Regions from separate parts of the Homo sapiens genome. Here all the other regions are linked to region 1. Evidence: promoter capture Hi-C in human tissues and cell types (Jung and others, 2019). All regions are on one chromosome and are shown on one strand. Each heading gives the region's core, a stretch centred on a gene start or on the middle of the fragment in contact. The rest is flanking DNA. Distances are from core to core; before and after follow the strand shown. Region 1 holds the start of FUT8 (fucosyltransferase 8). Region 2 has its middle 45 kb from the start of LINC02290. Region 3 has its middle 140 kb from the start of LINC02290.

What was found. Contacts are between HindIII fragments. The study calls those that stand out against the background at their distance.
Region 2: a fragment that was not itself captured here is called in contact with the fragment with the promoter of FUT8 in region 1 in 2 of the 25 tissues and cell types used here (H1 embryonic stem cells and heart left ventricle).
Region 3: a fragment that was not itself captured here is called in contact with the fragment with the promoter of FUT8 in region 1 in 1 of the 25 tissues and cell types used here (lymphoblastoid cells).

The regions. Positions count from the first base shown.
Region 1 is chr14:65,411,416-65,414,036 of GRCh38, reverse strand. It overlaps FUT8 (fucosyltransferase 8), which reads right to left and starts at 1,307. Exons shown (of 11, transcript NM_001371533.1): 1 at 823-1,307. FUT8-AS1 (FUT8 antisense RNA 1) reads left to right here and starts at 1,420. Exons shown (of 1, transcript NR_024334.1): 1 at 1,420-2,621. RefSeq lists enhancers at 2-566, 1,809-2,128 and silencers at 489-678, 689-808, 1,109-1,268. The HindIII fragment of the contact is 6,462 bases long and covers 888-2,621 here.
Region 2 is chr14:66,065,083-66,067,703 of GRCh38, reverse strand. No RefSeq gene overlaps it. Among named protein-coding and RNA genes, the nearest start is that of LINC02290, 45 kb to the left of the region's middle. The HindIII fragment of the contact is 3,448 bases long and covers 1-2,621 here.
Region 3 is chr14:65,973,025-65,975,645 of GRCh38, reverse strand. No RefSeq gene overlaps it. Among named protein-coding and RNA genes, the nearest start is that of LINC02290, 140 kb to the left of the region's middle. The HindIII fragment of the contact is 6,017 bases long and covers 1-2,621 here.

The sequences.
Region 1 (2,621 bases), core at 58-2,557:
TTAACCAAGGCCTCAATCTATATATTATATGGCAAAATGCTAAAATAAAAGCTCATCCGGGACAAACCCTAAGCATGACACTGCCACTTAAGAAATACACTGCGTCTCTGAAGATTGCAATCCCCACTGTGAAGAAAGAACAGGTGCTGCACCCGACAACCCACTCAATCCTGCAGGACAAACCTCCTAGAACTGATAAATATGGACTCATTTAACCTTCCCAAATAAGTTGATACTCAAAAGCCGCCAGCTCGTCATTTGCACATCAAAAGGGAGTACAGCTGCACTCAAGCCTTTAACTGCCCTGCATCAGTCCCTCGCGGATCTTTGTGAGGGTCCACTCCCTGCTTTCTAGCCCGAGCAGCACTCAGAAAGAGCCCATAACGCACGGGCATCTTCCTCCCCACAAACCGCGACTCCAGGGACCGAGCTGCTGACGAAGGGAAGGTAGGTGTGGAGGGGAAACGACGGACACCTCCCACCCCCGCCCCCAACCCTTCTCCTTCCCTAGGCTTTGGCCCCTGCCCTAGGCAAGGATGCGCGACGCCGAGGGCAGCAGCGGCGCAGCTCCGCGTCCCGGCTGGAGAGGCGGGCGCCCCTCACCCTCTGCCCGCGCCCCCGGGGCTGCGCCAAGGCATCCGCCAGAGCGTCCCGGGGGCTCCCTCCCCACTTTTCCGAGAGCCGCTGGTTAACCGGCAGCAGTTGCAGCAACAGGCCCGGGTGAACGAGCAGGGACAGCCGCGGAGCCTCCTCAGATCCCGCGCGCAGCCCAGCCCAAGACCCCGAGGCGCGCGGGGCCCGGCTCCCAAAACGCCCCCTTACCCCAGGCGGGAGCAGAGGCGGTCTCCGCCGCTCCCCGTCGCAGCTGCCAAAGCCACAGCCCTCAGCCGCAGCTGCCCCACGATGGGGGAGTGGGAAGGGTGGCTGAGTGGAGGATGCTACTCCCGACCGAACGGAGAGGAAGAAACGGAAACAGGAACCGCCGCCGCCGCTTAACGGAGCCTTCGGCGCCACTGACTGAGGCAGAGCGCGAGGCGGCGCGAGCCGGGCAGTCGCTGACAGCGCGAGACCGAGAGCGAGCTGGGTCCAGGGCGCGCGACCCTGAGCAGTGCCGGCCCCATTCCGCGGGGAGACGAAGGGACGGGTCGGCTGGGGCCAGGCGGCGGGGGTGGGATGGGGAGGGGGCCTGGAGAGGAGGGAACCGGCTGCTCGGGTCGGCCGGAGATAACGCGCGCACGCGCCGGAGCGGCTCTGACAACGAGCGCAGGCGGGGAAGCCTCGGCCAGCGCCGGCGTGCGCGCGCGAATGGGGGAGCGCGCCCCTCGGCGTTCCTGGCTTCTGGGAGAGGGCGCGCATGCGCCGGCCGCTGCCACCTACGGCGACCCTGGCATGTGCCAGGGATTCTCCCCGCCCCCTTCCTCGCTGCGCCGGTGGAGAGCGTAGCAGCAGCATCCACCGCCTAGCAGAGCCGCGGGCCACAGCGGGACGGCACAGTTCCAGCAGGGCAGCGGCTGCGCACGCCGGCTCCGGCTCGCACACAGGCGTAGGCCGCCCTCTACCGCCTGAAGGCCGGAGGCTGAGCGGGGCGCGAGCGGATCCTGGATCCCGGGAGGAGACTCGCCTCCAGAGAATGCTGTGCTCCCTACAGCGCCGGGAATGGACCGGCCCGTGCCAGCTCAGTCGGCGGCCCTAGGGGGCACCCGCACTAGAGGTTTTGAAGCTGGCTCCTTGCTACTTTTAGGGGTGCGCGCTGCTGCTGCTCAGCCCCTGCAGCCCGCATTTGGCCGCTTGACTGCTGCTTCCAGCGCGATCCTACAATGGCATCGCTCCCCCAGGAGACTCAGCGAAGCCCTACTTTATCTTGTAAGAGCTGTTTCCACATTCACTCGAAGAGAAAGACCCCCCCCACGAGGGCCTGAGTTCGATGCCCGGCCTCTCCCGACCCGCGGCTGCGACAGCCCCTCTGAGGCGGAAGTTTATTTAGTACGGGAAAGAGAACAGCACGGGGAGAGGGGAGAGGCTTTGCCCTAGGATGCGTCCTACCCGCTCGGACTCGGAAAATTCCCGGCGCCCGCGATGCAGAGCAGTGGACCGAAGGGCTGCCCCAGAGCAGCCCAGACCGCCAGCTGAGCGGGAGGACCGGAGCGCGCCGCCCCAGCACACAAAGTAGTCGCGGGACGAGGGGTGCCGCCGAGGCCAATCAGAGCTGCGCGCCGCGTGAGTGGAGTGCGAGCCGGCCAATCAGAGGGCCGGAAGATGAGCTTCCCGTTCCAAACTCTTCCCTGTAGCCTTGGGACCCAGATCCCAAGCCTGGGGCGCTTTACGGTGGGAGAGCGAAATGGTGCCCTTAAGACAAGAATCATTTCTCTAGGCTTGGGCATTTTAAAGTACATACCGGGGATACTTATCCCAAAGCAAGTAGCGGCGGCCTTTTAGATGTTAAATATTAAAAGATCACAGAAAGGAGATTTAAGAGGCAGTGGCCTGTCAAGGTTGCAATCTGCCTAATATTCATAAATTCACATATTTATTGAGACCTTCTTATGTACCAGGAACTCTATCACAGATACACAAATAAGGTACTGCTGATTCAAAAGAAAATCCCTTGTCCTCAAGCAGCT
Region 2 (2,621 bases), core at 58-2,557, 650 kb before region 1:
TTAGTTGTTGGCAATGCAAATGAAGGATTAAATCACAAGCAAGACAGACTTTTTGTTCAGAAGCTTGAGTTTTAAGAACCGTCCCCAGGGAAATCAAATGGAAGGGGGAAAACCAAGTATACAAGGCCTTCCTTCCATTCCCCCAAATGTCAGCCAAGAGTGCAGCCTAAGGGATGAGTCAGAAGTAGGGGAGCCAGGGCTTGGAAAACTGATTGTCTATACCAGGGCTTTTCATACTTTAGCATGCATCAGGATCACCTGGAGGGCTTGTTAAACACAGATGGTGAGGGCCCACCCCTAGAGCTTCTGATTCAATTGGCCTGGGGTGGGGCTCAAAAATTTGTGTTTTCAAAGTAGGTAATGCCGATGCTGCTGGTCTCTGGGGCCCCATACCTTGAGAACCACAGCACTACACTGTAGTCTCTCCCCACGTGTTCTAACTCAGTGCCTCTCAAACTCCAACGTGTATTCCACTCCCCTGAAAATGTTAGCGCACAGGCTCTGATGGAGGAGGTTGGAGTGCAGCTGGAGTTTCCGCTTTATTAACCAGCTCCCTGGTGATGAGGATGCTGCTGCCGCACTGAGGTCCCTACGCTGAAAAGCAACGCAAGGTAAACAATTGTCTTCTGGAGCTCTGCTTCTCTCTGATAGACATCTTTTCCTTCCTTTATGCCTTCCTGGTATATTGGGGATATTAGGGGAGACCTTTGAGAGACATGGGTGCCAGGGAATATCACTCTAAGTCTTCCTGGGTCTCGTTGGCCTGACCAACAGGAATCCAATGTTTATGTGCCAGAGGTTTGTTTTGTCTAAGCTACGAAATGAAACTTGGCCTTCTTTAACCACCCTTTGCTGGAGAGACCCTTGCCCATGATGCTGATGGGTGTGAAGCAGAAATACAGTGGAAGAGCTACCCTGGAGGAATCATGCTGCCAAGTCAGACAACTGGAACGTGTCTCACTACCGGGAGTAGTTTCACTGAGGTTGTGAAAGGGTGGGATTCAATGGGGAAAAGGAAAGCTTGCTCCCTTTATTATAAAAAGTGTTTACCAGGCACAGTGGCTCACACCCGTCATCCCAGCACTTTGGGAGGCTGAGGTGGGTGGGTCACCTGAGGTCGGGAGTTCAAGACCAAGCCTGGCCAACATGGTGAAACCCTGTCTCTACTAAAAATACAAAAGAAATTAGCCGGGCCTGATGGCGGGCACATGTAATCCCAGCTATTAGGGAGGCTGAGGCAAGAGAATCCAGGAGGTGGAGGTTGCAGTGAGCCGAGATCGCGCCACTACACTCCAGCCCAGGCAACAAGAGCAAAACTCCATCTCAAAAAAAAAAAAAAAAAGGAAAAAGTGTTGTGTTGGCAGCATATGGTTTCTGACCATGAGCTCTGTCTGGGGTTAAGGGACATAGACTCAAAGCTTTAAATGAAATCGCATTTGTAGGTTGTTTACCACAGAGCCTAGCCCTTAGTGTGTGCTTAATGAATGACAACTGCCATCATTTTTAAATTGGGAAGTACTAATTGTAGTAGAATCAGAATCCATATCGGAGGAAAACTGGCAGCTTGATAGCCTATAGAATCAAACATGATGTTTTGGCCACTGGGATTTCCTGTGCTCCGGAGGCCTAGCTCAGCCCCTGTGCTATTTAGTACATTTTTGTTGAATGAAAAGAAGGAGCTATACAAGTCTGGGTAAATTGGTAGGTGGGGGGCATTTGATCTCATGGAAATTGTCCGAAAGGAAAAAATGAATGGAATTCTGAAAGTGAGGTCTTTCAGGCCCTGGGTAACCTTGCTCGGTTTATTTATAAAATGGATCACTCCCACTCCTTGACAGGGTTATTGTGAGAAATGTTTTGTGATGGAAAGTGCTTGGTTAATTATAAAGCATAAATCAAGTATTCATTATTTTAATAAAGTGGAGGACCTAAAACTACCTAACAGGTCATTTGAATTGTGACCACTTTAGTGATGAGGCTGGGAGTAAAATTTTCCTGCCATCAGGTGTTAGTATGTTGGATAGGCCTTTTAGGCTGGCTCTCACTTGCTAGAAAAGCCTCTGAGCTTCTTGGTATTATTTGCTAAATGGGACATAAACCTTTTCAGAAAGCCAGAGTACAGGTGGGCCAGCAGGTAAGGCCGCCTGAGAAGGACTCACCTTTGTCGACCCAACAGGGAGCCCGTGAGCCTGGCTGGCAAGGAAAGACCCTCAAATCTCCCTTCCCAGCCCCTTCTCAGTCTAATGCATCTCATTTATTGTTAATGCTGTTTCCACTGGCTCATTTGCAAACAGCCTGAATAAAACATCAGAGCAGAGCGGGAGGGGTAGTTCTGTCTTCTGCAGCTGCCTCTGCCACACTCCTGTCCTCCTTCCTTTCCTCCAGTCCCTTCTCCCCTCATTACTCTGATTAACAATCTTTACCTAATTGGCTTGTCATGAAACAGCCAAATAGGACTCCTGGGCTCTTGCAAGGATAGTGAGGAAAAATCTCGGGCAGGCCCAGCATTTGCTTTTGTTTTTTTTTTGTTGTTGTTTTTGTTTTTCTGGATGTGGGGGGAAGAAAAGCAAACACTGAGTCTTCTCATAACCTTAGAGAGGAGATCTAGGAATAAAGTGGCT
Region 3 (2,621 bases), core at 65-2,564, 560 kb before region 1:
TGCTATGAATTGCCAACATGAAATGAGGCCATCTAGGTAGCTTCTCTAAAACTGTGAGGCAGAGAGGAGTGAAGGGGCCTGAGCACCCAGGGGCACTATCCCCAGACATGCAGCCTTACTGTCAAGCAGTCGCTCTGTCTTGCCACATGGGAGGCATATTGGAGGGTTCATGCAACTCTGCTGAGTACTTAATAAAGCAGCCAGTGTCATGGGCTAGTGGCTGGAAGTACACCGGGGCTCTGTAGTGTTATTTTTTAGCCCAGACATCTGCTCTTTCACATCAGGCTAATAGAGACAGGAAGGTCACAGTGCTCTGCAGGGGAGCCGTCTCCAAGCACAGGAGCTAGTCAAGGACACTTGGGCCAGGTAATCTGTTACCTCTGAGCAGCACATAACAGTGACTAATCACCTCTATGGTTATGGACACATTTATAAATTCGATATTAACACCCAATACATTATTAATGACCCCAAATATGAATAATTCAGTGTGTCCACATTTAGCAGGTTTCTGCTTAAAAACCAGCTTTGCTTTGGTCTTGGCTCATTACATTGATCCAGAAAAAAAGGACTAGGAAAGAAACAGCCTAGCTCATGTTCGGTGTGCAGGGAGGCTGGGGCTCATCATGGGGAGTGTTTTCAGCCCAGACTCATGCTGATATAGGGAATTCACTTAGCACCCTCCACTACCTGCCTTCAGCTTATTCATCCACATAATGAAGACAGTTGGGCTAGATGATCTCTAAGACTCATTTCAGCCTTAAGATTCTGAGAAGGGGGAGAAAATAAAGCTAATGAAACTAGCAGAAAAAAAATGTAACATCCATGCTCCAGAAATGGTTGTACTTCACTGCCTCAATCTTGCCAGTTGTCCGAGGGATGAGGCTGGGACTGCTTGATGGCCTGGTTTCCTGGGTGTCTACATGCTTGCATCACCTAGCAATAGGTCCCACCTGCCTGTAAGCTGCTTGGGGTAGGGACTTATGTATCTTTGGGTTTACTGCAGCACCGAGCACAGTGACCAGCACTTAGTAGTTCTTTCTACATGAACGTCAAGTGAAATAATTAATGAGGCAGGTGTGAGGTGGACGTAATTCCTACCCCTTTGCCAGTTTAGTCCATCTCTGTAATGGGGAAGAAGAAAATTGCCCGGTGTGGCTTTCCCAGAATTTTGGAACTCTGTTTTTCACTCCAATAGGGCCATTCCATTCCTTTTTAGCCCAGCAGACTTATGGAAAAACATATGAACCCTGAAGCTCTCCAAAACTCATTCATCTTTTGCCTTTGGTTGAAGTTGAGCTGATCTCCACTCTTCCTAAGAGTTAATCTTCTGTTCTTTGGCTATTGAAACAGTGGCCTGGGTAGCAGCAGGAACCTACCAGTGTGTGGCCTCAGGCAGGTCAGTTCCCTAAGCCTCAGTTTGCTTATCTGCAAAACGAAAGTGTCGGACTCAGAGATTTATAGGGGCATTTCCAATCCAAAATTCATTATAAAAAGTGGGTGGGGAGAGAGGCAATGGGACCTGCCTTGCATAACCCAGGGTTTAGTGGCACTCAGATAGTAAAAAGTGGAATTGTCCATAATGGTTTAAATGATGGAAGAACCATGATATGACCCCCAGACTCAGTGAGCCAATTGCTGTGTTCCAGGGCCAGACCCCAGCAGCCAGCAGCCTCAGATTTGGGCTGATCATCTGTGAACCCAGCAAGTAGCTGCTAAATCACACCTGCTCCTATAAAAATAACTCCAGGTGCACTCCTGTGGGAGAAGAGGAAGGAGGCTGAAAGTCTCCCTTGGGATGATATGTAAGCTCTAGGCAAGAGACAATATTAGGAGTGATGGGAGTTAAAGTTGGAAATCTCCTGGTCCAGCCAAATGTTCCCAAGTGCACCAGTTCATGTAGGAGAAATTGGGAATTTTTCTGTTTTCAAAGATATGAGCCAATGGAGGCTCAATTACTTCTTTTGAGAGCCTGTTCTGCCTTGTGATCACGGGCACAGTTTTCTCCTAATTGAACTCTCTCTTAATGAGGCCCATTTCTTCCTCTTTAATCTTCTGAGCTGATAGAGAGGCACTGGCTATGGCTAGAAACTGAATTTAGATTTCCCCACTTCACTTTCCTGCTCTTGTTTACCAGCCTTCCTAATAGGGTCTCCTCTTTCTCCAGGAGAAAATACCCTTGTAAGCTTAAGGCTAGAAGCCATTCCTCTATTTTCCATGTTTCCTCTCAGGATCATTTCAGGTGCTGCACCTTCTTCTCAAAATACAGTGACCCAAGATTAAATGTACTCACCCCCTCCAAGAATATAGGTATGTCTTCTGTCACCCTGCCCCAAATTTCATGTTTGCTTTCACATAACTCCACTTCTAATTTAATTCAGCTGCTGTTTCACTGTGATTCTCAGATCGTTTTCTCCCCAGAAATGCCTGTTTTTGTTGTGTGATGCTGAGCTCATTTACATGCGTATGATAACACTGAGAAATAGCAGAGAATGATGACTGTGATGATAATGAAAATGAAAAGGAGATGGTGATGACATAGTGTCGGTAAGAGTGAACAGTGTTCTTGGAATGCACTAATCCCAGAAAGCATATCATTCCATAGGAATGTACTTCAATAT